Linked DNA regions of Homo sapiens: regions 1, 2, 3, 5, 6 and 7 are each linked to region 4. Evidence: promoter capture Hi-C in 16 types of primary human blood cells and fetal thymus (Javierre and others, 2016). All regions are on one chromosome and are shown on one strand. The core of a region is centred on a gene start or on the middle of the fragment in contact, and the rest is flanking DNA. Distances in the headings are between cores, read along the strand shown.

The links. The method cuts DNA at HindIII sites, captures the fragments that hold promoters and counts their contacts. A CHiCAGO score of 5 or more calls a contact.
Region 1: a fragment that was not itself captured here is called in contact with the fragment with the promoter of PAXIP1 in region 4 in 1 of 17 cell types (neutrophils); the score reaches 6.0 in neutrophils.
Region 2: a contact is called between a fragment that was not itself captured here and the fragment with the promoter of PAXIP1 in region 4, in 2 of 17 cell types (neutrophils and naive B cells). The highest score is 6.2, in neutrophils.
Region 3: a fragment that was not itself captured here is called in contact with the fragment with the promoter of PAXIP1 in region 4 in 4 of 17 cell types (fetal thymus, total CD4 T cells, total B cells and 1 more); the score reaches 7.5 in fetal thymus.
Region 5: a fragment that was not itself captured here is called in contact with the fragment with the promoter of PAXIP1 in region 4 in 6 of 17 cell types (naive CD4 T cells, neutrophils, non-activated CD4 T cells and 3 more); the score reaches 7.6 in naive CD4 T cells.
Region 6: a fragment that was not itself captured here is called in contact with the fragment with the promoter of PAXIP1 in region 4 in 4 of 17 cell types (neutrophils, fetal thymus, naive CD8 T cells and 1 more); the score reaches 6.9 in neutrophils.
Region 7: a contact is called between a fragment that was not itself captured here and the fragment with the promoter of PAXIP1 in region 4, in 1 of 17 cell types (monocytes). The highest score is 5.4, in monocytes.

Annotation. Positions count from the first base shown.
Region 1 is chr7:155,581,645-155,585,812 of GRCh38, forward strand. No RefSeq gene overlaps it. Among named protein-coding and RNA genes, the nearest start is that of CNPY1, 37 kb to the left of the region's middle. The HindIII fragment of the contact is 2,017 bases long and covers 1,215-3,231 here.
Region 2 is chr7:155,604,036-155,607,794 of GRCh38, forward strand. No RefSeq gene overlaps it. Among named protein-coding and RNA genes, the nearest start is that of RBM33-DT, 38 kb to the right of the region's middle. The HindIII fragment of the contact is 2,786 bases long and covers 1,112-3,759 here.
Region 3 is chr7:155,712,763-155,716,791 of GRCh38, forward strand. All of the region lies in intron 8 of RBM33 (RNA binding motif protein 33), which reads left to right. Among named protein-coding and RNA genes, the nearest start is that of RBM33, 70 kb to the left of the region's middle. The HindIII fragment of the contact is 3,679 bases long and covers 1-3,335 here.
Region 4 is chr7:155,000,314-155,004,373 of GRCh38, forward strand. PAXIP1 (PAX interacting protein 1) reads right to left here and starts at 2,811. Exons shown (of 21, transcript NM_007349.4): 1 at 2,536-2,811. The coding sequence starts at 2,616. PAXIP1-DT (PAXIP1 divergent transcript) reads left to right here and starts at 3,120. Exons shown (of 1, transcript NR_028090.1): 1 at 3,120-4,060. RefSeq lists silencers at 1,952-2,101, 2,272-2,641, 2,672-3,361, 3,382-3,461 and an enhancer at 3,706-4,060. The HindIII fragment of the contact is 20,481 bases long and covers 1-4,060 here.
Region 5 is chr7:155,668,960-155,672,775 of GRCh38, forward strand. All of the region lies in intron 2 of RBM33 (RNA binding motif protein 33), which reads left to right. Among named protein-coding and RNA genes, the nearest start is that of RBM33, 26 kb to the left of the region's middle. The HindIII fragment of the contact is 2,057 bases long and covers 1,216-3,272 here.
Region 6 is chr7:155,691,040-155,695,211 of GRCh38, forward strand. The region is part of intron 5 of RBM33 (RNA binding motif protein 33); the gene reads left to right. Among named protein-coding and RNA genes, the nearest start is that of RBM33, 48 kb to the left of the region's middle. The HindIII fragment of the contact is 1,641 bases long and covers 1,733-3,373 here.
Region 7 is chr7:155,783,016-155,787,011 of GRCh38, forward strand. No RefSeq gene overlaps it. Among named protein-coding and RNA genes, the nearest start is that of SHH, 27 kb to the right of the region's middle. RefSeq lists an enhancer at 1-57 and a silencer at 3,146-3,346. The HindIII fragment of the contact is 927 bases long and covers 1,208-2,134 here.

The sequences.
Region 1 (4,168 bases), core at 973-3,472, 580 kb after region 4:
CTGGCCCCTGAAAGCCATCAAGACAGGGTGGCCAGAGCCTCAGATTCTCAGGCCAAACCAGTCTCAATGCTGGGCAGCCTTTTCCATGTGAAATTGCTAGATCCCATCTTATAATGGATACCATAAATTTGTATTAACATGGCATCTCACATTTAAGGAGTTTTTGAGGCAAGGTAGTGTTGAAAGTTTCCCCTCCAGGCAAAAAAGAATGAATAAGAAGAGAAAAAGCCAATAACCTCACCCCTCTGAGGTTTAAAGCACCGGCTCGTTTACTGGGATATATATTTTTCTTTCATTGAATTGTTTTGTCTCTTTTACTTAGATTGAAAACCTCGTGGGCAGGGATCACGTGGCCCTTTTACCCCCGAGCGTAACCAACAATAATCACTCGCTTTAGATAAATGCGTGTAAGAGTGAAGGCCTGTATGTCTAGTAGCTACGCCAACACCTGTGCAAGTGCAGAGAAAGGCTGCGGCCTCCCCTCTGTTACATGTTGCTTTCCCTGTGCAGACAAGAAGTGAGCCCCTTTTCCTGAGGGGGTCCTTGGGTGCCAGGGCCGGCCAAGAAGAGTGTGGGGAGGTCTCACCACCCCCTATTTGCACAGGTGACTGCCAGGCTTGGAGGGAGCCCATGGAATAGCAAAGCCCTGGAGAATGAATTCAACTGAGAAGGTGAAGGAGTGATCTTCCCCTTTTGGCATAAGGAGGGACAGGGCAGGAAAGGGGCACCTGCAGAGGACAGGTGTAGAAAAGGCTACACTACAGGGAAGGTTTCTATGAGGGTCTGAATGTCTGTATCCCCCCAAAATCCACATGGTGAAACTTAAGCCCAAATGTTATGGTATTACGAAGTAGGGCCTTTGGGAGGTGATTACTCATGAGGTCAAAGCACTAATGGAATCAGTGCCCTTTATAAGGAGGCACTTTATAAGGAGTGCCTCTTTTATAAAGAGGCCCAAGAGAACATATTCACCCCTTCCACCATGTGAGAGCACATCGAAGGTGCTCTTTATGAGAAACAGACCCTCACCAGATGCTGAAGCTTTGTGGCTCTTGATCTTGGACTTCCCAGTCTCTAGAATGGTTAGCATTACATATCTATTTTTTTTAAGTTACCCAATCTAAGGTATGTTGTTATAGCAGCCTGAAGAGACTAAGAAAGAAATTGGTACCAGTAGTGGGGATGTTGCTATAACAAATACCTAAAAATGTGAAAGCTTCTTTGGAGCTAGGTAATGGGTAGAGGCTGGAAGAGTTTGGAGGTGCATGCTAGAAAAAGCCTACATTGCTGTGAACAGAACAGCAAGGATGATTCAGGTATAGGCACAGAAGAAGAAGAGAGCCTCTGAGAAAACCTCAATCTTCCTCAAGATTGATAAGAGGTCAGAATGAGAATGTTGGTAGAAATATGGGCAGTAAAGGCCATTTTGATGCAGTTTCAGAAGGAGGAGAGGAACATGTTATTGGAAACTGGAGGAAAGGCCATCTTTGCTATGAAGTGGCAAAGAACTTGGCTGAATTGTGTTCATTCCTAGTGCTTTGTGGAAGGATGAATTTGTGAACAATGAAATAAGGTATTCAGCAGAAGAAATAACTAAGCAAAGTGTTGAGGGTGCAGCCTGGCTTCTCTTGACTGCTTATAGTAAAATGAAAGAAGAGAGAAATGAATTAAAGATGAAATTTATAATCAAAAGGGAAGAGAACCTAAAGATTTGGAAAATTTTCAGCCTGGCCACATACAGAGCAAAAAAGCATGTTTAGGAGAAAAATCAAGGGTGTAGCCAAGCGACCGCTGATAAGGAGATTGGTATGGAGAAAAGGAAGCTGGATGCTGCTCATCAAGACAGTGGAAGAGTGACCCCAGGAACTTCTGAGCTTCTCAGGGCTGCTCTGCCTGTCACAGGTCCAGAGCGCTAGGGCCTTGGGGATAGAATGATTTCAAGGCTCTGCTGCCCATGTTCCAATGCAGTGCTCCTTGGCCACCCCACCTGGGCTCAAGCCCACCTAGGCTCAAGCAGGCCCAGGTGCAGCTCAGCCCACCCCTCTGGAACTCACAAGCAGTAAACTCTGACAGTATCTATGCAGTGCCCTCTCTATAGGAGCTGTGGTGACATGGTTCCCTCCATCCAGATTTCACAGGATGGCCTGGAGAGCCCCAGCTCCCACGGAGAGAACTGACACAGAGGTGGGGCCACCTCAGAGAGTTCCCACTAGGGCAATGTCCAGTGGAGTTCTGAGGGCAGGAGTGCCCACAAGACTCCGGTACTGTAGATCCAGCAGCAGTGTGCAGCCCCAGCCTGGGAGGGCATGGACCTCCAACCAGGGAGAGCTTCAGGAGTTACCATAGACCACCACCCTCCCCGACCCCTCCATTCAACCACTGAATCTCTCAATAGCTTCCAACTCACCTCCTCTTCACCCCCATCCTCCTCCCTCTTCTGGATGACTGCAGGCCTCTTTTCCAGGCTTCTCTCCCCACTCCAGGCTCTCCACAACATTCTCCACAGTCATGCTGCTGAAAACCAACCCAACTGTGACCCAAAGACCCGAATGCCCAAGTTCTACCAAGTTCCACCAAGGGTTCCCACATTACCTTAAGGATAAGGGAGATTCGTATGGAGAGAAGGAAGCCGGATGCTACCCATGAGGACAGTGGAAGAGTGACCCCAAGGGTTATCCTCTGCATTGGCATAAAAGCCCTGCACGAGGGGCCCCTGGCTGCGACACGGCAGCACCATCCTCTGGGCACCTTGCTGAGAGCTCTGTACATGCACTGCACCTCTGCGCACAGGCTGCCCCTCGGTCTGAAAGGCTGAGCCACCCTTCCCAGTGGTTCCTAGTCCTTCAAGACTTAGTCAAGATCAGCTCCTCCAGGAAGACTTCCCAGAGCACCATCCTGCCCCTCCTTGTGAGTCTGAGCCTGGTTCCAGCACCTCCAGCCTCCATCGGAACCCCCAACCCACCAATCCTCCAGAGAGGGGCTCCCTGGGCTGGGCTGGGCACCACTCTCCCTGGACCTTGGCACTGGACATAACTTCCAGTCTGGGACACAATGGACACCCAGTAGAAAGTGTTTCTGAAACATCAATAATGGACTGACGTGGAGCAAGTCACAACGACCCCAGGACTCCACGTTTCCACCAAGTGAGGGGATATTACTCAGTGAGCTACAAGACCACTTCCAGCCCTGCTATTGCACCAACTGTCCTTGAACTAAAGCCACTGAAAACAAAGCTTGGCATAAGACGGTCTTTCTCAGATGGAACATAGCTGCTCTCATGATCTGTCATGCCACGTGACACGCCATATTCTGCAGGCTGCAATGCTGCAGCATTCGTGACCTTGGGAACCACAATTCTGACAAAACAAATTAGACACTAAGCATCTCTAGCTATCATTAAACTTCCCCAGCAGCAGGGCGATGATCGGATCAGACCTCAATTCTGCTCTCAGTTGTAATAGGAGTTTACAGCCATATGTGCCTCGTTGCCTGAGGCACAGTAAGGCTGTGTTTAACAGGGCTCACGCTAGGGAAATAATGTTCCAACGGATCATAAATAATATTGCATTTGCATCGTGCATGTTTTTCCCTGTTTCCTCTCATCATAAGAAAAGCTGTATGCATTTGGTTCATCCTTCCCCAGAACACATCCAGCCTGTGTTATCAGAAGCACACAGGGAGGAAAATCTACTTCCATCTGATGGACGCTGTTAATCTGAGCACAGCTGAGCTGTACCTGGGGCTCCAGCCAAAAGCACATGCCTCAGAAATGACGGCAAGCACACCCAGACCAGGGCGGGAATGAGGAACTTCAGATCAGCCAGGCTCCTCCTGCAACATGGCCCGTCAATTCTCCACTCTAGGGGGCTCACCTTTTCTCTCGGCCGATTCTTTGACGTTTCAGGCTACACACAGGGGAGACAGAGTGTGTGTGTGTTCATGTGTATATGTATGTGTTTATGTGTGTATACGTATGTGTTTATGTGTATATGTGTGTTTGTGTGTTTATGTGTTTGTATGGGTGTATGTGTGTATGTGTGTTTATGTGCTTATGTGTGTATGTGTTTATGCGTATGTTTATGGGTTTGTGTGTGTGCGTGTGTTTACGTATGTGTGTTTACGTGTATTTATGTGTGTGTTTATGCATGTATGTTTATGCGTGTGTTTA
Region 2 (3,759 bases), core at 1,255-3,754, 600 kb after region 4:
TCCACCCACCCCAGAATCATGCTGCCGTCCAAATACTGCAAGGGAGGAGGGAGAGGGTTGACATCTTGGTGTTCCGACGGAGGGCCAGGGTGTGAGTGTCAGTGTCGGGCTGAGCTGTATCTGGCCTCTTTGGACCTACAAAAAGGAAAAATTAATTTCTCATGTTTTGAGGTAGCCTGAATAGCGGGCCCTGGCCCCTGCCCAAGATGTTCGCCTCCTAATCCCCAGAACCTGTGAATATGTCACCTTACATGGCAGAAGGGACGTGGCAACGTGACTGAATGAAGCATCTGGGTATGGGCAGATCATCCCGGGTGGTCTCGGAGGACCTTTTAGGAGAGGGGCAGGCGTCAGTGCTGGGAGCTCTGAGGATGGAGGTGAGAGGGTGGAGTGATGCGAGGAGGGGTTCGGGGCCTCAGGAGCGCAGGCAGCCTCCAGGAAGGCCTGCCAACACCTTCACCGTAGACTTCTGGCCTCCAGAGCTGTAAGGGAATGAGCCTGTGTTGTTTAAGCCAGTGCACTGTGGTGACTTGTTACTGCAGGGGAGGGAAACTCATATGAGTGCGCCAGATTCATCGCCAAAAGGAGGCTCAATTTTCCACCCTTCTCTCGGATCCATGCCCCTGCTCCCCATCCCTTAAATGTGGCTGGTTTCTGTGACTGGTGGTCAGGACAGCAAGCTAGTTCTGAGCCGAGGCCTCTGGAGACCTGGGAGCCTCGAATTACCCCTTGGCACCAGCCTCTGCCCCTGGAATCACCCCATGGCACCCGCCTCTGCTACTGGAGAAAGAGAGCCTGGCATTGCAGCTCAGGCCACATGGGCCGGCCAGCTGTCTAAGCTTTTTCCTTTCCCCCATATCAGACTTTGGAAGTTAAACCCAATATTTATACTTACTTACCAATGGCTCTCCGGTAAATATTCCTGGAAGTCAGGGTGCAATCAAAATAAGTAGTCAGGTTCAATAAGGGAAGGGAAATTGTTATTTTCTAAAAGCTTTCAAAAGGCCAAGTGCTTTCACTTAAGATCCCACTTAATTCACAAGAGAATTTTGATGTCCATTTCAGAGGTTAGAATAAAAACTTGTGACAATGAATGGAAACAATACTATAAAGCTTCTTTAAAGAAAACAGTGCAGTGTTGATACGTGAATAGACAAACTGAAGAGAGGAATTGACTAGAGGGTCCTGAAATGACCAAAACACGTGGAAAATCAGTGTCCGGCAGAAGCGGCATCTCACACCACTGGGGTAGGGACAAGTGTTTTAATCAATTGACTGAACAGTTGGTGGCCTTTGAGAAAAAGATAAAATTAAATCCATATGTCACACCAAACATAAAGATAAACTCCCAGTGGATCAGGGATCTAAATATTTAAAAATAAAATAATAAAAGTACTAGAAGAAAATATGGTTAAATTCCTATTCAACCTCCACATTGAGTCTTTCTAACTATAACCCCAAATCCAGAGGCAATTAAAAGAGAATAATAAATTTGACTACATAAAAATAAAATAAAGCTGTGTGGCAAAATATCATAAATGAAACAAAAAAGCCTGATAAATTGGGAGAAAATATTTGTAACGTATATCACGGATGAAGGACTCATGTCTCCAATCTATAAAGACGTCTTTAAAATTGAAAGAAAAGAACCAAAAAAAAAGAGAAAAATTGGCCAGGTGCGGTGGCTCACGCCTTTAATCCCAGTACTTTGGAAGGCTGAGGCAGGCAGATCACGAGGTCAAGAGATGGAGACCATCCTGGCCAACACGGTGAAATCCTGTCTCTACTAAAAATACAAAATTTAGCCAGGCGTGGTGGTAGGTGCCTGTAATCCCAGCTACTTGGGAGGCTGAGGCAGGAGAATCACTTCAACCCAGGAGGTGGAGGTTGCAGTGAGCTGAGATCATGCCATTGCACTCCGGCCTGGGCAAAAAGAGTGAAACTGTCTCAAGAAAAAAAAAGAAAGAAACATTTAGAAAATATATGAACAGATAATTCACAAAAGAGATGTCAAAATGATCCTCGCCATACAAAAAATGTTCTACCTCACTCACGACTAGAAATATGTAAATTGAAACCACACGGAGATAGCATTTCTTGCCTATCAGATTAGCAAAAATCAGTATGAAAATCCCTTCTTCCTCTTCTTCTTCTTCTTCTTCTTTTTTTTTGTCACCCAGGCTGGAGTGCAGTGGCACAATCTCGGTTCACTGAAACCTCTGCCTCCTGGGTTCAAGCAATTTTCCTGCCTCAACCTCCCAAGTAGTGGGGATTACAGGTGCACACCACCACGCCTGGCTAATTTTTGTATTTTTAGTAGAGACAGGGTTTCTCCATGTTGGCCAGGCTGGTCTCAAACTCCTGACCTCAAGTGATCCGCCCGCCTTGGCCTCCCAAAGTGCTGGGATTACAGATGTGAGCCACTGCGCCTGGCTGGCAACGCCTTCTTCTGATGAGGCCATGGGGAATCAGCACCCTCCCACACTGCTGGTGGGAGTGAAAGCTGGCACAGCTCTGGGAGGCAATTCGCAACACCTAACAAAATGAGATCTGCACTTATTTAGAGTCACCTACTCCTAGGATCCCACTCTAAAAACATACCTCCGACAGCATGAAACTACATACACGTGAGATTACTCACTGCGGCACTGATCGTCATCAGAATATTGTGGGAATAATCGAAACGGCCATATGTAGGACAGGAGTTGAGTAAACTGTGGTGTCTCTACAGGATGAGGTCGCTTTCACGTAAGAAGGAGAAGAAAACATACCGTGCTCTCTGTTCATCTGCTGTTTAGTTCCGACTTTTAGAACCAAGCTAACCATTCCAGGTAAATGAAATAAATAAATAAGCCGGAAGGACCCACGTGGAATACAAACAGAAACTAACCGACCCAACTGTATTAGAAAGAGATGCCAGAGGCTGGGCACGGTGGCTCATGCCTGTGATTCCAGCACTTTGAGAGGCCGAGGCAGGTGGATCACAAGGTCAGGAGATCGAGACCATCCTGGCTAACACAGTGAAACCCCGTCTCTACTAAAAATACAAAAAATTAGCCGGGCGTGGTGGCGGGCACCTGTAGTCCCAGCTACTCGGGAGGCTGAGGCAGAAGAATGGTGTGAACCCGGGAGGCGGAGCTTGCACTGAGCTGAGATCGCGCCACTGCACTCCAGCCTGGGTGACAGACAGAGGGAGACTCCGTCTCAAAAAAAAAAAAAAGAAAAAAGAAATAGATGCCAGAGGCCAGGTGCAGTGGCTCACGCCTGTGATCCCAGCACTTTGGGAGGCCGAGGCAGGCAGGTCATGAGGTCAAGAGATCAAGACCATCCTGGCCAACATGGTGAAACCCCTTTTTTACTAAAAATACAAAAATTAGCCAGATATGGTGGCATGCACCTGTAGTCCCAGCTACTCGGGAGGCTGAGGCAGGAGAGTCACTTGAACCCAGGAGGCGGAGGTTGCAATGAGCCGAGATCACGCCACTGTACTCCAGCTGGGCAACAGAGCAAGACTCCGTCTCAAAAAAAAAAAAAAAAAAGAAATGACATAGCCACACTGAAGGGGAGTGAGCAAGAGAAGAACCAGCCTAGGTACGTTTGGGAAATAGCATTTTTACCAGATTCTCTAAAACTCGAAGGGTTTTCCAATGGCCAAATCTGTGACATTTTGAACATCATAAGTAATGATTATAATGAATTATAATTCATAGAATAAAATGGAAAATCAGGATTCCATCTGGCATAAAGAAAGAATTGAAT
Region 3 (4,029 bases), core at 246-2,745, 710 kb after region 4:
AAAGCAGAGAAGAAATGCAGAACCTGGGTACCGTGGGGCCGTGGGGCCATCCAGCCATTCTCAGGACTTTGGCAGGGAGTGAAATGGGCAGGGATTAGAGGGGTTTGAGCAGAGGAATGACGTGACCTTGTGTATGTTTTAGAAGATTCCTCTTGCTGCCGTGTTGAGAGGAGACTGTCGGGTGGCAAGGGTGGAAGCTGGTGTCTAGCTAGGAGGTGACAGATGATCCTGGTGCAAACCAGTGTGGTAGCAGGGAGAGTGCAGAGAGCTCAGAGCTGGATGAAGTAGGAAGATGGGGCCGATGGGATTTGCTGATGGATTGGATGAGTGTGAGAGGGAGAGAGGAGGTAAGAGTGATGCCCAGGTGACCAGAGCATTTAGAGGGCTGGTCTGGTTGCCATCACCTGAGGTGGGGAGATCAAAAGTTCTGTTTTGGGTGCATTAAATTTGAGATGCCAACTAGCCATGTGAGTGGAGGGGTCTAGTAGGCAGTTGGATGAGAATTCAGTATAGGGGTTTGGGCTCAAAGTACAGGTCAGGAGGTTGTTGGTGAATAGGTGGATTTAGACCCTGCCCTCAAATGAGAGCCCTGGAGGAGGGAGTCTGTGTGTGGGGAGACCAAGGACTGGGACCTAGGGCACTTGACACAGGAGGGGGAGGGGCAGGAGGAGAACCCGTCAGGGAGGCCAAGGACTGGGACCCCGGCACTCGACGTGGGAATGGGGGCAGGAGGAGAGCCTGGCAAAGGAGCCGAGAGGGAGGAAGGAGGATGACGGTCGATGGGGAAGGAAGCAGGTGGCCACGGGCTGGCAGGGCTGCTGCCAATGGGTCAGTGGGTGTGGCCTGCACTTGGGGCGGGGCTGGTGAGGAGGAGGCACAGGCCTGGCTGAGATGGGGCACGGACTTGAGGCCACTGTATTGACAGACTTTGACTGTGTTTTGCTAAAACAGAAGTTGGATGATAATTGATGGGAGCCAAGTGGGCTTGAGAGAAAGTTTTTTATTCTAAGTTTTTTATTCATTGCACTTACAGAAAAGAGCTAGTTAAGAAGGAAAAACATCATTGATGCAGATGAGAGGAAAAACTTGTCTTGTCCAGGACCACGTGCCAGAGGTGGGCTTGCTGAGGGGGAGGAGCAGGGAGTCCTCCACAGCTGGGGCAGATGGATGGGCAGGTGGAGGAGTCTTGTGTCAGTTCTTCCTTGGTGGCCTCAGTTTCCTCGGTGGGTAGCAGGGAGCTAGAGTGGGGAGGTAGGAGGGCGTGTTGAAGGTCTGAGGAGAGGCGCTTTGGAGCATCCGTTCGTGCTTTCGAAGAGTGGATGTGCGCAGGGATGGATGGGGCTGCTGAGCCCTTGAGGGGTGTGGATTTGAGGTGAGGGCAGTCAGCATGGTTGTGTGTCTCTGTCCAGCTGCGCTCATCTGCGCACACTAGGTGTGGAATAGGCAGGCAGTTGGGTTTATGAGGGTCATAGTTTTCACAAAGTAGTAAAGGGAAGGCAGTGCTGATAACGATGGGCTGTGGATCATAAGGTAGATGCCAGGGAGGAGAAGACACCAGGGAGGAGGCTGAGATGGTGAAAAGGAGATCATTGGAGATCTTTGTAGAGTTGAACGATTGTTTGAATCAGGATCCTAGAGGGAGTGAGATGGAAGGGTGGAATGGTCACCAGGACTGGAGGCAGAGGTGGCACGGATCTGAGGCAGGGCACGGCAAGGGCCGTCTTTGTGTTTATTCAGACTGGAGCTGAACTCCCTGAGAAATGAGAGGGCCAGTGTGGTGCTGGGGCATGTCAGCTGGTGGCATGAGATGAAAGCTGGGTCTGGAAGCAGCAGTTAGATCAAGAAGGAGCCCTTCTACCTCCAGACCTTTGGCAAGAAGCTGTGGGAGAACAGCTGCCACTCAGAGGGGCCATTAGAGCGAGAAGGTGAAGGAACTCAAGGGTGTGGTGGATGCTGCTGATGGGTGGGGAATTTGGGATTCCTAAGGGTGTGGGAGAGAAGTTTCAGAAGTGGAGAGTAGCCTAAGGTAGTAGTTCAAGTGCAGGGGATTGGCCAGTGGCCTAGATCCTGGGACCCTCCCATACGTGGGTGAGAAGTATTATGAAGTTGTCCTGTGGCCATGGAGCAGGGGACTGTGATGGTGACGGGCTGGCCCAGAGTGTAAGGGAGGGGGGCGCCTCTTGACAGTGTCTGCGGGTCACCACCAGGCCACTGGGCATGGCAGAGAAGCATAAGGTTTTAAAGTACAATTAACTCCTAACCCCTCCTGACCCCATCGCATGTCCCTGTGTTCCCCCAAAGTTTTTCCCACCCTGGTTAGCATCGCTCATCCACACATCCTCTTAGGTGGCCCTGAGCGTCGCTGATTGGTGTGGTGCCTACGTCTCCTGCAGTAGCCGTTGAATGAATGGAGACATGAACACACGCATACTTGAATGGGGAAGGGTGGCTTTCTTTCAAGTAATCCTTTGCATCTTCCCCATAGTGGTTGTCCTGAACTTGGAACTGCTGTCAGTCTAATTTGTTGGAATAATTTTGCTTATGCTAGCATCTGTTATTCTTGTGCATTTCCTTGTAAAATGCCGTGGAAAGCTGGCAGCTGGTAATACGTACAGATTTTCTTTAGCTTCACTAAAATAGTCTTAGAAATATAGGGTGGTAAAGCTGTCAGGAAGCCCCAAGATATCCTCTATGTATGAAAATGGTGTCCCCTGCAAAAGTCAACAGCCTGGCAAGTGTAGAATGCAGGCCTTGCACCCCAAAGCGCACGTGTGATTTAGCAACTACTCCAAGGTCAGCTTTCTGACAAAAGTTTTTAAACTCAGAACCAGCTAGCTTTTTCTCACCATGAAACTAGGAGCTTTAGTGCCGCATGTCCCTTATCTGTCATTTACCTTTGACCTTCAGAGGTACACTGACACAGGAGAGAAGGACAAAGTGTTCTTGCTAGGTAGATAGGCAACACTTTCGAAGCAGTTGTTTATTCTCTAATAGATGAATGAGCTTAAATAGAAATGCACAGTTCCTCTTGAGAGAGACTGAATATCAAGATGTCTCCTGTAGGTAAAAGATACACAGATTAAACCTTTGATTCTCAGAGCCTTACACAGATGAAAGGTGCTTTTTAAAAAAGCTAGCAATATATATACATCTTCTTCTGATGGCACAGACTTTCTGAGGATGAAGAGTGTTCCGTTATAATTTATTTAAAAACAATTTTGATGGAAATTTAACTTGTTTCCAGGTTTTTAGTATTATAATTATAATGAATTGAAAACAGTCCATTAAATACATGGGACAAGTTATAAATATTAAACTTCAAATATTCAAGTTGAAGCTTCAGCTAGACTGGTCTCTAACATCACACCTGTTAAATTCTTCGCTGCAGTAGTCGGGCAGCCAGGGCCTGGCAGGGAGAGCCCGCAGACACATGCCTGGGTATTCCCACTGAGGTGGCATCTCTTGGGTGGGCCAGGTGTCTGCACTGTTCCCATGGGGACTGGACTGTCCGCACGCAGCAACCCTTTTTGTCAGCTGTTTTTCCTTTTCTGCTGTTTTTTTTTTTTTTTTAAATAGGGAAAAGGCTGGTACTTTGTGCAAATTACCAGCTCATCAGAGGCTTCTGTGTAAGAAATCCATTTATTATAATCAGATTGCTTTCTAGAAATCCCACCTCACCTTCTTGCTCTCATTCTCCTGGTTAAAGAGGCTTAATGTTTTATCCTTTTATCGTGTTGGAATGTTTTGGTAGATATTGGCATTTAAATTCCAAGTTTCTAAGTGGTACCTATGATCGAGTTAGTGAAGATCTGGGTGTCTTATATTTGTTAACTTGATTATAAAAATCACGTCTTTACATTTAATATGTAGTGTTTTTCTTTGTCACCTTCATTATAATCTTCTGAGGTCAGAGATATTCTTGTTTTTTTCTTTCTCCACTTTCTCCAGTCTAGTGTTTCACTTTAGATATGGAATTGATGTAACATCAGCTGTGTAGAATTGAGGGGAGAGTTGGATTCTATTTTATAT
Region 4 (4,060 bases), core at 1,561-4,060:
CCTCTAAGCATTTTTAGCTTCACGCATCCATTCGACTGGTCTTCAGAAAAGGCACCCCTCCTTTTCCTATCCTCCAGTCTGTTTCTGATCCTACTCCCTTCTTCATGAGTTTCCCTGTCCATAGCTATGTTCCCTCCACCTGTAAACAGTAAAGTCACCCACATCCTTCCACGCGCTTGTGATGCAACACAGATCCCTCCCCAGCCCTCTCTTCCTCAGGCACCTTCTCTATTTCCTTCTCAGGACAAACTTCCTGAAGAGTCTAACCTTTCTGTTCTCAGTTTCCATTCACTCTTCAACTCCCTGCAATCCAGCCCCTTCCACCAACACTCTACCAAAAACACTTTACTCGGTTTTCACGAACTTTGAGGATGCCAAAACCAATAGCTTCTCTTCAATCTCCACACTACTGAGTATCTTAATAGATTTATCTCATATCACTCTGTTCCAGATATAGTGATCATCCTGATGTATCCCAAACGCATGAATGCCTTCATTCCTCAGCACATACGCTCCACATGAAAATATTCCTTCATGTTCTTAACTTCTGCTTATCTCAAAACCCAACTGAAATGACATCTACTGAGTGACATTTCAGTGGTGTCTACTTTGCACCCCAGTGGAGAAATCTGCTACACCTTGTACTGTGATATGTCCAGGTGTGCTCCCTCCCCCACCAATGAGGGGCGCTAAAGGGCAGGTACCATGTCCTCTTCACCTCTGTATTATACCTGGCACCTAGTCCATGCCTGCCTCATATTAGATGGTCAACATGTGAACTTATAATCCACAGTCATAAGAGTCAGAGAATCAGATGTCCAGGCTCAAAACTTTTCAGAAAATATACTGTTTCAGATGAAAGTGGTTTGCCAAGGACATTTTTAAGCACTTAGATTTGATTCAAAGTCGAGTAAATATGGTTCCAGTTCAACTTGTTCCAGGTTTTAAGTAACATTTGGTTCAAGTCCCCTATAAGAGCCAAAGTCCTAAAATGAAACACGAAGGCTAGGAAGGAGGGGGAAGAGAAAAATGGTGGATAGCAAAAAACAAAAACAAAAAAACAAACAAAAAAAAGAGGGGCGGGGGAATCATCAATACTGGAAAAAGCTAACACTGTTACAGGCACTCATCTTCATCGCTCCGTGTTCAGCAACTGTTTTACTCTGTAAATTCAAAGATAGAAGGCTTTTTTTTTTTTTTTGAGACGGAGTCTAGCTGTTGTTGCCCAGGCTGGAGTGCAGTGGCGCGATCTCGGCTCACTGCAACTTCCACCTCCCAGGTTCCAGCAATTCTCCTGCCTCAGCCTCCCGAGTAGCTGAGACCACAGGCGCCCGCCACCACGCCCGGCTAATTTTTGTATTTTTAGTAGAGATGAGGCTTCACCATGTTGGCCAGGCTGGTCTCGAACTCATGACCTCAGGTGATCCACCCGCCTTGGCCTCCCAAAGTGCTGGGATTACAGGGGTAAACCCGGCCTTGAAGTCTCTTTACCCTAAAGTTACAGGGCAAAAAGGGTCCAAAAAGTTGTTACAAGGACGAACCTCAAGAAGGCCAAGATCACTCAGCCTTCTACAATTCCTTCTACACCATCCAAGTTCATCTGCGAAATATGAGTCTCCGCCCTTCCAGGCCTAACTCTGATCACTGGGGATCCCCATCCTCCAAGGTGGGGGCCACTGATGTCACACCCAAGGCAACACAACTGTACAGCTAAACTTTTAAGAAGGAAATATTTTGAAGATTAACCTGAAGAGGATATTCAACTAAGATGCATTCCTACCACGGACTGATAACTGTGTGACATCAAACAGATATATTATTATAGGAATACTAAGGAAAACCCACAATATCCTTTGGCGTGAGCCCAAACTACACAAAATTAAATGTGTAATGTGATGGTGTTACCAGGGTACCGTAAAATTAATCGTCCAAGTGGGAAAATCAAGGAAGACGAATGCCAGCCCCCACGTGCAGGGACACAGGCTGGAAGGGAGCGCTCCTCAGCCCCGCACAGGACGGCAGCTGCCCGGGTGGCGGAGGCGGCCAAGCCGGTGCACGGCCACGACCCCCGCCGGCCGAGCGAGGCTGGGGTCCCCGCGCGAGCTGCCCCGGCTGGGGATCCCGGCGCCCCTCGTCCGCCCTCGGAGCTGCTCTCCCGGGAGCCGAGACGCCCGGCGCGGGGAATGGGGAGACGCGACCCCGCGCCCGTCCCGCTCAGCAAAGGAGCAGAGAACGAGGCGGCCCGGTGGGTCGGGGGCGGCGACCCCAGGGCCGCAGGCCGGGGGCTCAGGGCGCGCACTAGGGGCCGAGGTACAGAGCCCCAGCCGCCTTCCCTCCCGCACTCCCCCGGGCCCGGGCCTCCCGCGCCCACCCCGCGGTCGCCCCTGCCCTCAGCGCAGTCAGGCCAGCGGCCTCGGCGGACCCGACGCTCTGCGCCCGGCGCGCGCCCGCGGCAGGAGCGGGGACGGGGACGGGGACGGGGACGGACGGGGACGCGGACGGGGGAGGAGGCCGCGGCAGGGGCGGGCGCGGTACCTGCGGGTCGATGTCGCCCACCGCGTAATACTTGACCTCCCTGAACATCTCCTCAGGAACTTTGGGCGCCTGGTCCGACATGATCGCGGCGGCCCGGGAGGCTCCGCGGCGGCGCCCGGCCCCGCCCACCCCCCGCCCCCGGCCCCCGCGGCGCCCGGCGCCCCCACTCGCCCCGCCAACGGCCCTGCCCGCGCAGCCCGGGCCCGGTCCTGCGAATCGGGGTCCGCTCCCCCGCCCTCCGCGCCCCCGCCCGCGCCCGCGCCGAGCGCCCGAAGCGCGGGAGCCGCGCGCGCCCTGCGGGACGCACCATCCCGCCCCGGCCACCGAGGGGGAGCGCCGAGGAGCCGCCCGGCCTCCAGTGACGCCCCGCGCCTCTGCCGCCAGCCACGGCTCCGGGGTAGCTGGCGCCGGCAGCCCGCTCTGGCCCTTGCGGTTCCGTGGCCGCCGCTCTGCAACGAGGGGGCCCCGAGGACGAGGGGAAACCAGCTCCCCCCTCGGCGGGGCCGGAGTGAGCCGGTCCCGGGGAGGAGGGGAGCTGGCAGGCCCCTCCCGTCGCCACATGCGGCTGCTCGGGGGCGGCGCATGCGCGCGGCGGAGGGGGGGGTGGGGCCTTGGGGCCGCGAGTGGGAGCGGGAGCGGTTCTGCGGCCTCCTCGGGCTTCTTGGCCCTGGGCGGAGTGGGATTGGGTGTCCCGGCTGTTCGCAGTGGCCGCGAGTGCGGCCGGACCTGGAGTAGTACCTGAGCCGCTCTGGCCGAGCAAGGCGCGGGGCCCCGGTCTACACCGCGCTGGACCCGGCTATGCCGTGACGGAATTCCCGAGGCCGTAGCGCCACGCGAGACGCGCACTGGTGGCCTCCGCGGCGAGTCCTGGGGTCTCCGCAAGGCCTCAGTGCCCGAGCTGGGGACGTGCTGGGGGGAGGCCCGGCCCCGTCGCTGCCCGAGGCCCCGCTGTCCCGGCCGGACCGGCCTGGTCCCTGGCGTCCTGTCGGGTCCGCGCTGGAGGAGAGTCCCAGACAGCAGAGCCCGCGGTGCAGCTCCAGCCCCGGGAAGCCCCGCGCTCAACAGGTTAATACTACACAGCGGCGATTCTAATGGTCACGCTTTTATTTACAGCTCGCCTCCCTTCCGCCAAGATTCACAGAACACGGCAGAGTGGCCTCGGGATCACCTGCCCAAGACACCTGCACGACCGGAAGTTGGGAGAAGAAATTAAGGCCATGATGATGAACGCAGCCTTTCTCGTTTATTTCCAATCCCACAACAAACCGGAGTCCAGGAACTCATGGGTGATTATCGGACTATTACCTAGTCGTAAAACTGTGGAGCATTGGTGTCTAAAGGAATCTGAGACAGACCCGCAGTGTCTCCCCCACATGCCTTAAGTCACTTCTGCCAAGCAGAAAATCATTTTTAAGTAAATGTTAGTGAAATTGGTTTTAAAAAAGAGAAGGGGCCGGGCGCGGTGGCTCACGCCTGTAATCCTATCCTTTAGGAGGCCGAGGTGGGCGGATTGCCTGAGTTCAGG
Region 5 (3,816 bases), core at 994-3,493, 670 kb after region 4:
TTGGTCATGGTGTGAGACGGTTCTAGGTTTTATTGTTTACCGTATTATGAATTGCAGTTGTTTCATATTGTTTGTGAACGAGCTCTTTTTTTTACTGTCTTCAGTGACGTGTTTGCATCTATGAAGCTTTTGCCACATGTATTTCTTTTTTGATGTTTTAAGCATAAGACAGCCTCTCTGTGTGCTGCATGACACAGAGAGAGACACTTGGAAGGTGAGAAGAGTGGGTCAGGAATTACTATGGTAAGTTCTTCTGCCATGCTGTACTGGTAGTGGTGTTTGGAAGAATATGATGTCATTGCTGAACCAACACCTGAAATTGTGTTTTATTTATTTTTTTTAAAGATATGAATGTCTCATGTGTCCAGGCAAGAAAGAGATACCCACTCAAAAAGTTTTTGTTTGTTTTTGTTTTTGTTTTTTTGAGACAGAGTCTGCTCTGGAGTGCAGTGGTGCGATATCAGCTCACTGCAACCTCTACCTCCCAGGTTCAAGCGATTCTCATGCCTCAGTCTCCCGAGTAGCCGGGATTACAGGCATGTGCCACCGTGCCTGGCTAATATTTATATTTTTAGTAGAGAAGGGGTTTCGCCGTGTTGGCCAGGCTGGTCTTGAACTCCTGGTCTCAGGTGATCCAACCACCTCAGCTTCCCAAAGTGTTGAGATTACGGTGTGAATCATCATGCCTGGCCCAAAAAGTTTTAACTGAAGAAATTTAATGACGGGTCTATTTACAGGCCAGGGTTAAAGAACTAATGAGTTCATTCCCATCCAGGGAGTACCAGTTCCTGCCCCGGCCTTGTGGGAAGTGGTGTCCTAGGGCCCAGTGAAGGCTGTTGGGGGAGGGATACTGTAGTCTCTATTTCTTCAGGTGAGAGGGGAGGGGCCGGTCTTTCTCCTCCTACTTGGTGACGTTATGTTGGTGCGTCCCAATGGGCGAATCCATCTGGAAGCCAGAGGTTAGGACCGGCTGTGCCAGCTGCTCCTGGAGGACGCAATCCAGCCACAGAGCAGGCAGGTAAGACGGAGAGTGGACTAGAGTGGGGAGGACCCAGAGACTACAGCCCCACTTACAGTGGTCAAGTTCACTTCTGGTTTTGAAAGGCTGTAGCCAAGTGGCTGACAACAAATACTTGTTTCCTGAAAAACGTCTTTGAGGATAACTTCTGTTTCTAAGTAAAAATATACTTGCTTTCAAAGAGCTCATTGTCTGTAAGCTTTAATAAGAAATGCCTGCCAGAAAGATTGTTCGTACTCAAGTAGTGATTACTGGTGGAATCTTTAGGGAACTCTAGAATTGAACACAGGAAGCCTCTTCATCAGCCCAGTGCTTGTTTGATTTCCTAGAACACTTACTGCTGCTGCCAGCCAGAGTGACTGCTCACCCCTTTGAAACTGCCAGATGGAGACCAGTCATTTCCATTAGTTCATTGTTGTTTTTGCCAAGAGTGGATGTAGTTTTACATATGTAATAAATTTATTCCTTATGTGTACATCCTTTGTGAGGGTCCAGCTTTACGATGACAAGAAGAAAAGTACATGTAGTTTCTGTGGGGTGTGTGCATAGTAGTTAGGACTTGGATTCTCTCACTGGTGTCACCACTTCCTAGCTGGATGACCTTGGGCAAATTAGCATCTTAGTGTCTCTGTTTTCACATTTTGAAAATGGCAACGGTGTGTCTACCTGAGAGGGGTATTATGTCAATGAAAAGCTCGTGTGTGTGGAACATGTCAAGTGGTGCCTGGCACAGAAGTGCATTGAGCGGATGCTGTGGATCGCTGGGGCTGCTGTTTATACTTGCTGTTGTTCTGTACTGAATCCCACTGTCCCCCATCCTGTTTCTCATTAGTCATGAAACAAGTACTAGTCTTCATTTTCTCTACTCATTTTATAGTTGATACACTTACTTATCTTTTTAAAAATGTTTTCGTTGAGAAAAAATAAGTAGTTATTAAAGGTTGATTTATTTCCATGTACTTGTCAGCAAGAGGCACAGATACTTTCTAGATTTTTGCTTGTATAATTACTAATGCCTGTTTTTATGACTTTGTCAGTTTGCCCTGGGAAACTGGCATCACATTCCATTTTTAGTTACTTAAGGTGATGGTATAGACGAGTGCCTGTCTTTAAAAGAGGTGCTTGTGTGTTTTTGGTTATCTGGAATCAAATTTTCAAATGGGGTTATTGTAAATATTGTTGACTAGACAGCATTGTTTTCTCCCTGCCTCTGGAGGGTAGTTGGAACACTGAAGATACAAAAATTGTATTTGATAGATGATAGTGGTTTTAAAATGTTGGAAGAAGCTATATGTTATTCTCTTATAACTATCCTATAGGAGTTTGTGAAAGATTGTTTTTCAAGGGCTGTTAAGTTCTTGTCCTGCATCTGTCACTGCTGTGTGACTTTAGGCAAGTTATTTCATGTCCTATCCTTGTTTTCTTTATCTGTAAAATGTAATATAGGACTTACTGGAGGATAACTTAAAATAACGAATAAAGTCTTTAGTGCATGAATTAAATGATTTGTCAGGTTGTTTTTAGTTCTAAAAGGCGTTATATAGAAACATGCATTTCATTATAACTCCATATATGCATTCCCGGAGATTATAGTATTCTGCAAAGTGGCATGCTAAAAATAAACATGATTTTTTGGTAAAATAATGGTTTTGCTGATTTCTCAATACCTATAGAATTTTGTAACCAGAGCACCTATTAAAAATAAAGCAGCAATTCTAATAACAATATCGATGCAGTTAAATCTCCATGAGTATTGGCACCTAGAGTTACAGTCCATCTAATTGTATTTCCTCTTTGTATATTTCTGTATGTTGACTTTTAATGATATTTGCTTCCAAGAGATTGATTTCCCCAGAATTAAAAACATGATCTAGTGGTAGCCATTTTTATCAACTAAAAAAATCTTGTTTCTAATAAATGCAGTGGAAAATGTCTTCAGCTTTTTTATTTGCTAAGGGTTTCTGTTTTAGTTGTAAAAATAGGGAGAAAGCCGGCTTCTAATCATTTAAAACAGAAATATGCTAGAAAAAATTGCAAATCACTGATACGACATCCATGTTATACAAAGCTAATTTCCCTTAGTTACTGTGATTTGATTTTATGTTCTCGTTCGTTTTTAAAATTTATTTTTTTTTTCAGTTTCTTTTGGTTTGATGAATGTCAAACGGTCTCTAGTGGTTTTGGTTTTTATCTTCCTAATCAATTATATTGTGCATCTTTTCCTTCTTCATTAAGGTTTTTAAAGATAGGAGAAAGCTTAGATATGACTTACTATATTACAGTTTCTGCTTTTACTGATTATTCAACAGACCCAAAGAGATTAAGATCCCATATTAAGGTACAAAACTAAGATTAGAAGTATAGTGAGGCACTACCTATAGCAAAGCCTCCCCATACTTAAAAAGATAAAATGTTCTCTGTGCATTTGAAAATACATTTTTATTATTAATAAAGAAAGAGGAAAGCATAGCAAACTTAATGTAAAAGTATCCAAGCTGGCCGGGCATGGTGGCTCATGCCTGTAATCCCAACACTTTGGGAGGCCAAGGCAGGCGGATCATGAGGTCAGGAGTTCGAGACCAGCCTGGCCAACATGGTGAAATCCCGTCTCTACTAAAGATACACAAAATTAGCCGGGCATAATGTAATCCCAGCTACTTGGGAGGCTGAGGCAGGAGAATTGCTTGAGCCTGGGAGGCAGAGGTTGCAGTCAGCTGAGATTGCACCATTGTACTCCATCCTGGGCAACACGGTGAGGCTTTGTCTCAAAAAAAAAAAAAAAAAAAAAGGTACCTGAG
Region 6 (4,172 bases), core at 1,303-3,802, 690 kb after region 4:
CTGGATAATACCCTGCAGAGTGTTTTCCAACTTGGTTCCATTCTCCCAGTCACTTTCAGGTACACCAATCAGACGTAGATTTGGTCTTTTCACATAGTCCCATATTTCTTGGAGGCTTTGTTCGTTTCTTTTTACTCTTTTTTCTCTAAACTTCTCTTCTGGCTTCATTTCATTCATTTGATCTCCAGTCACTGATACCCTTTCTTCCAGTTGATCGAATCGGCTACTGAAGCTTGTGCAGTCATCACGTAGTTCTCGTGCCATGGTTTTCAGCTCCATCAGGTCATTTAAGGACTTCTCTACACTGGTTATTCTAGTTAGCCATTCGTCTAATCTTTTTTCAAGGTTTTTAGCTTCTTTGCGATGGGTTCGAACTTCCTCATTTAGCTTGGATGTTTGTGGTATTTTGAAGTTGGAAAACTAATTTTATTGTTTGTTTTTCCTTGTAATTTATTTTAGTTTTTAGATAACAATATTTTCTTTATTCTTCCCTGATACTCTATAATATTTGTAGCATATCTTAAAATAGGGAAAGGTTTTGTAGATTTCAGTTTTCAAATGATGGTTACGTAAACTTTTATTGCAAGGCAGTTAAAGAATGTTAACAAGTATTATCATTGCCTGGGTGCCTTCTGGAAGTGCCTTCTAGTTCTAGACGTTTTTAACTTCAGTTCCTGGACAGTCCTAATTAATACATTAAAACAAAAGAGAGCTACTATAAAAAATGGTGACCTGGCTGGGTGCTGTGTCTTATGCCTGTAATCCCAGCACTTTGGGAGGCCTAGGTGGACGGGTCACTTGAGCTCAGGAGACCAACATGGGCAACATGGCAAAGCCCCATCTCTACCAAAAATACAAAAAATTAGCTAGGTGTGGTGGCACACACCTGTGGTCCCAGCTACTCAGGAGGCTGAGGTTGGAGGATCACTTGAGCCCAGGAGGTGGAGGTTGCAGTGAGCTGTGATTGCGCCACTGCCCTCCAGTTTGGGTGACAGAGTGAGACCCTCTGTCCAAAAAAAAAAAAAGAAAATTTTTTTTTTCTTTGATTTTCAGTGTCTCTTGTGTGGGGGAGGAGGGAGAAAAAGAAGGACAAATAATGTGGGACAGTAATTCAGGACTTGATTAAGCAAATGAACAATAGGTGTATGAAAATATATTCAGTAAAAATTAAAAGAAAATGGAGAATTTTAACCTACTTTAATATTAACAGACCTCAGAATTATTGATCAGATGTAGTCTGATTCACTTGAGGGAGCGTTTTGGTAACATTGTCAGGAGACAGTTTTCTGAGGGTCCTTCATTTAGCTGCAGGTTTTGTGAGCAAAGCGAGCAAATCACTGCCTGTCCTTTGTTCCGGAATATCTTTTAGAGGATTCTGGTGTAGCAGACAGCTACAGATGCAGTGTCTTCCTCTGGAGTCAAGGACAGGTTTGCTTACTCCCCATTGTGACACATTCAGGGTTTCCTGTGCAGAGAAGTCCTTCCTGTAACACAACCTCCTATGTGTGCAGGGTCACCTGGCTCTCTTCACACGGCCCAGTTGGGAGTGGGGCTTCTTGGAGCTGGTGCAGAATGCTACTGCTAGTGATACAGATAACATTGTCCTAGTCTCCTTATTTCTGACGAAGAGTCTTAGCTTTCTTACAGCTTCCGTGAAATGGTGGCCAACTAACTTGTTAGCTTGCAAGTAGAGTAAAATCTTATACTCTTCACTGTTCTTGACAGTATTAAAAGCTTTAAAGCTCCTGTCCTTGGACTCAACAATTCCACTTTAACAAATTTATCCAAAAGAATTAATCTGTGTTCAAAGGTATATGTATCAAGTATTTGTTTGCAGCATTGAAAATAAATGGAACCAATGTATAAAAGAGTAAATCATGGCCTAACCTTAAAGTGTAATGCAGTATACCAAGTGTTGTCTTAGTTCTGTTTGACTTGGAAAGGTGCTCGTGATGCATTAAGTGTAAAGAGCAAGATGATAGAATTCTTCCCTTCAGCTCCCCCTGTAACTGCAAATCTAAATATGTGTGTGTAATTCTCAAAAAAAACAAAAAGTCTATGTAGTTACAGATGGAAATGGTAATAATGATTACTACTAAATGGTGGAATTATTTAGTCTTTGTATTCCAATATTTTCTGATTTAAAAATTTTTTTACTGTAAGCGAGAAATATTCTTTTTCCTTTTTAAATATGAAAAGACAGGGAAACATAAGGTGGTTAAACGCCGACCCTTGAATTTGGAAGGCAAAGAGCTAGAAGTTGCATCTGTTTCACTCTTGTGATTTTTTTTTCTTTTTTTTTTTCTTTTTTTGCTGTTAACACTCTCACATGAAACTTCCTAAGGGTTGTTTTCAGTATGAATCTTTCTAGCAGAAAGTAAGAGCTCATCCATATTAAGTATTTTGTCTTTTTTATACCATCTGCTAGATGTATTATTTACTTTTTACTTTTAAACTGTGTATCTCATAATTTAATTTTAAATTTACTGTTGAAAAATATTTTTAAAAGGTATTCGTATATTTACTTTTTTTATCCTTTCCTTGATGGTTTTAGTTTACTTTGTTTATGTTGCTTGCTTTTGTGATGATGGCAGGTTCTTTGTGATGCTCTTGATCTTAGGACTTTCAGTTGTCCTTCCTGGAGGCTGGTGATGTGCTGGTCTTTTCCACTAGCAATAAATATTTGGGGCTTTTTTTTTTCCCGGCTGCATTGTAGAATATTAGTCAATGAGATAATTATTGGGAACTCATGCGCATAATACTGTTTTAAGTGCTGAGAAGTAGAAGTTGCTAGTATTTCAACTTTTGTAGGATTTGGTTTTGGAGGGCTTGTGATCCATCTTTTTTAGAAGTCTAAATAAACTGTGTAGTCCTCAGGGAGGAGTACCATTTTTAATGTGCCACATATCCGTCTGTTTTGGTGTCTTCCTAGTTCCTGGACTCCCTTTCCTAAATATCTGCATTGTTGCCGAGCATCCTGTTGTGCCCCATCTGTGTTGCCGCACGCTTTGGTCTGCATTGCTTAAGACTGGCAGAAAGGGTGTTGCGGTTTTCCAGATGACTTCATTCTAGGAGCTCTGTTAAGGTCTATATTAGAATCTTAATTATAGAACTTAAAAGCAATTAATTAATTTTAATTGAAAAGCCTATTTTAGGTGACTCCTTTTATTTAACTAATGTTCTTCCTTGGTTCATATAGAGAAATCATTATATTTGAAACAAGTTAGATCTAATTATAAAGACTAAATATCAGTCTTTTATAGTTAATGCGGCCACATTAGTGCTAGTTATGCTATTGTCTTCTAACATAGTTATTTAAAAAGACTTGCCATTTTCACATAGTTTTGGCATGTGTAGAGGAAGAAATGAGAGAAGCTTTAAAAACATATTTGCACCACTTAAAATACTTGTGAAATGGTGATAATGTTTACACTTAGAGATAAGCATAGATGTAAAGTGTACAGTAAGTTTTGATACATGTATACATCCAAGTTACCATCCCTTGGTTGATAAGGAACAGTTCCATTACACAGAATGTTTTTGTCTGTTCAGTCCTGACTCCTCAGAGTAAAGCGTTCTTATTTCTATACCTAGATTGGCATTTCCTAGTCTGGAACATCACCTAAATGTAGTCATATAGTGTGTGTGCGCTCCTGTGTCTTGCTTCTGTTGCTCGGCACGTTTTTGAGATTCATCCAAGTAGTTGTGTGTATTAATAATTTATTCCATTTTATGGATGTACCCCATTTGTTCATTCTCCCAATGATAGACATTTGGGTTGTTTCCAGTTTTTTTGTTATTATGAATAAAGCTACTAAAAGGATCATATTACCCATCTTTTTGTGGATGTATGTTTTTGTTTCTCTTGGTTATTAACAAGTAGTGGAATTGCTGAGACGGTCTAGAGGTATGTTTACTTTTATAACAAACCACTATTGGTTTTCCAAAGTGGCTGTACCATTTGGCACTCCCACCGGTACTGTGGGGGAGTACCTCATTGTTCCTCATCATTTAATGTTGCCAATCTCTTGATTTAATCCTTCTAGTGAGTGTGTCATCGTGGTTTTAGTTTCCATTTGTCTGACCTCTAGTGATGTTGAGCACCATTCCATGTGCGATTGGACTTCCGTATATCTTCTTTGCTTCTAGTTTTAGTCTCTCACTCAAAAAAA
Region 7 (3,996 bases), core at 421-2,920, 780 kb after region 4:
AACGGGGGGCCTTCCACAAGCAGGGTGGCCTGCAGTGGGCAGACGGTGGCTGCTTTCAAAGATACATTTTATCACCCTGTTTTCCCCGTTCTCGTAAGGATGAAAAGGAAAGTGCCTTAGTTTGGACCTAAGTAAGGAAGAAAGAAAGCAAGAGAAGAGGCAAATTTGGGAAATTGAAATGGAGGAGGAAGCAACAGGTAACAAAAGCGAAATGTGTTGGGTGAATTTCTCAAATCCGATTTAATTGAATTTTTAAGCCTAAGTCATAATCTGAAAATGCCATGTGATTAGAGCCCAAAGCAGTTTTCTTCCTCTTTAATCCATAGTTCAAGAATAAGTCATTCCTTGTTTTTAAAACCTGTACTTTGGGTAATGGGATCTCTACAGAACATGGGCAAAAAACGCCTTGACATTTCAGGGAGAAAATGGGGCTTTCTTTGAATTAAGGGTACACTCAAGAGTGGTAGATCCTTTGAAGAAGGTATTGTTATTTCCCATAGTTGCCCCCTGAGCAGTGCCTGGCATGCTGGAGGTCTTGGTGTGTATTTATTTAGTGCAACCAATTACGTGAGGCAGTGTATTTGTGGCAGGCCCAGGGGTGTCCCCGTCCCAGACACAGGAGGTTTGGAAGTGGTTCAGGTGTGTGGCACTGATCATTCCTGTTGAAACATGGCCGCTGAGTCCTGAAATCTCACCCTTGGTTTCTGCCTGTGTCACCGGGAGTGCAGTGGTGCAATCACAGCTCAATGTAGCCCTGATTTCCTGCGCTCAGCTGATCCTCCCACCTCAGCTTCCCCAGTGGCTGGGACCACAGGTGTGCACCACCATGCTCAGCTAATTTTTAATATTTTTAGTAGAGACAGGGTTTCACCATGTTGTCCAGTTTGGTCTTGAACTCCTGGCCCCAAATGATCTGCCTGTCTTCGCCACCCAAAGTGCTTGGATTACAGGTGTGAGCCACCGTGTGCGGCCAGGTCCTTTTCTTATTCGAACATGTATTTGCATGTTTTGAAAGAGTGACAGTCACGTCTGAAGGGAAAAGTAAGTGATAAAAGAGTTCTGTAGGAAACACACAGTACTGACAATTGGTGGCTCTAGGAACAGAAGCACAGAGCCATGTGTTGTACACCTTGAGGTGCAGCTCGTTGCTGTGTGCTTAAAAGAAATGAGAAGCACGGCAGTTTTGAAGCTTCACGCTCAAAAAGGAAGCTTTCTTGCTGACCTTTGGTGTTGCCTGCAGGCCGCAGCGAGAGGGCAGAGGTCCTTGCGGCTCTTCTCTAGGGTCCGACGTAGATCCAGACAGGAAAGTCAGTGGGGCATTCTGGACATGTCGTCGCACCAGGCTGCAGAGCTGGACACTGAGGAAACCCCTCCAGAAAGAAAGCCCTACCTCCCGACCCACTGCAGGTGACTAGAGGACTGGGCAGATGCCCTTCAGACCAGACGGAGAGGAGCACTTCTCTGATTCCAAGTAACAACAGCTGCTGTTGAGGAGGTGTAATGAAAACCGCACCTAAGCTCTTCACCCAGCTTCGAAAGCTAGCCTGGATGTTTTCAATCTCAGACGCTAGTCGTGTTTTTTCTCTAAAATTGACAATGGAGAGAATTTTTTCTCACCATCAAGGGAGAGCATCTGTGGATGGTGTCTGAAGAATGATACCATGTTTTGTTCTCCTTATTTTTTTGGAGACAGGGTCTTTCTTTCTCTGTCACCCAGGCTGGAATGCAGTGGTGCATTCCTGACTCACTGCAGACTTGACCTCCTGGGCTCAAGAGAACCTCCCCTCTCAGCCTCCCGAGTAGCTAGGATTACAGGCGTGCACCACCACACCTGGCTAATTTTTGTATTTTTTGTAGAGATGGGGTTTCACCACATTGCCCAGGCTGGTCTTGAACTCCTGAGCTCAAGCGATCCGCCTGCCTTGGCCTCCCAAAGGGCTGGGATGACAGGCGTGTGCCTTCCAGTGCTGCTCCTGGCTTCGGCTTCTTCCCTGGCCCTTACATTGCCAATGTGCACCTCAGTCACCAAAGGCAGGCTTCGCCTCAGCTTCCCAGGATGGCCGTGCCCCTGAGATGATGGCACCAGCCTTGCCAGGGAGCCTCTGATGACAGCCGTTCAGATGATGTCATGTGAAGCTTCCTGAAATTTTCTCTCCCATTAGTCTTTAATCAAGGGAAAACACTTATTTAACAAAATTAATAGATTAAAATCCCAGTCCTTAGAAAAAAAAATCAGTGAAATAGACAAACCGCTAGCTAATTAAGAAAAAAGAATGTACAAATAAAAAGAAACACAAGAATTGCTATTGATAAAAAGGACTTTTTTAAAATTGTAGAACGTAACATCAAATTATGTAAAACATGTAGCATCAAAATTATACATCAATATATATGATTTTAACTGTCAGTGTCCAGTTCTGTTTTATTACATATGTTCACACTGCTGTACAGCTGTCCCAACCATCCATCTCCAGAACCTTTTCCTCTTACAGAACTGACACTCTGTCCCCATGAAACACAAACTCCCATCCCCTTCCTGAGCCCCCAGCACCCCCCGCCCCCACTCCACTTTCTGCCTCTGAATTTGACGACAATAAGTGCCTCATGTGGTTGGGATCCTATGGTGCTTATCCTTTTGTGACTGGCCTGGTTCACTTGGCACGATGTCCTCAAGGTCCATCATGTGACAGCCTGTGTCAGGATTCCCTTCCTTTTCAAGGCTGAGTCATATTCCATTATAAACACACAGTGCATTTGTTACCCATTCATCCATCAGTGGACACGGGATGCTTGACGATGACGAATGCTGTTACGAACATGAGTGTGCACACGTCTTTTTAAGAGCCTGCTTCCAATTCTTCTGTGTCTGTATGGGGGCGTGGAAATGCTGGGTCGCATGGCAGTTCTATGTTTAATTTTTGAGAAACTGTCATCCTCTTTTCCACCGCAGCCACAACATTTGACATCCCCACCAACAGTGCTCAAGGGTTTCTTCCATTTCGCCACATCTTCACCAACATGTGCTATTTTATGTTTCTTTGTTTTTGTGTGTGTCATAGCCACCCTAATGAGTGTGAGGGGGTGTCTCATTGTGATTTGGAGTTACATTTCCCTAATGGTTAGTGAGGTTGAACATCTTCTCATATGCTTGTGGGTCATTTGTTTATCTTCTGTGGAGAAACACCTATTCAAGTTCGTTGCCCATAAAAGGGATTTTGTAAGCAATAAAAGACTACTTTGTAGATCTTTTTGCAGATAATTTAAAAACCTATGTGATATGGACAATTTCTTAGGATAAACAGTGTATCAGTATCAACTGCTGTGGAGATCTAAAGCTCATACCAGTCAATCTCTACAGAAAAAAATAAAATGATCAAAAAACTAGGCATGCAGAAAGGCCCACATGTTACAGAGGAATTCTACTAAATGTTTGGAGACCAGATATAACTTATGCTGCATAAATTGTTCCAAAGCATTTAAAATGAGAAAATTTCCACATCCTTTTAATGAAGCAAATATATCGTTTATATCTATACCTGGAAGAGATAGCACAGAAAAGATGACCAACCGATAATGTTTATGAATATTGATGCAAAAAAATCCTAAATAAAATACTGGTGAACCAAATACTACATTAAGAAACACAAGGCCGCGCGCGGTGGTTCACGTCTGTAATCCCAGCACTTTGAGAGGCTGAGGCAGGCGCATCACTTGAGGTCAGGAGTTTGAGACCAGCTTATCCAATGTGGAGAAACCCTGTCTCTGCTAAAAAAAAAAAAAAAAAATAAGAAGAAAATTTTTTTAAAAATTAGCCGGGTGTGGTGGCAGGCACCTGTAATCCCAGCTACTGGGAAGGCTGAGGTGGGAGGATCGCTTGAGCTGGGGAGGCGGAGGTTGCAGTGAGCAGAGATCCTGTCACGTCACTCCAGCTTGGGCAACAGTGAGTCCCTGCCTCAAAAAAGGGAAAAAAAAAAGTTTTATGAAGACACGAAAGCA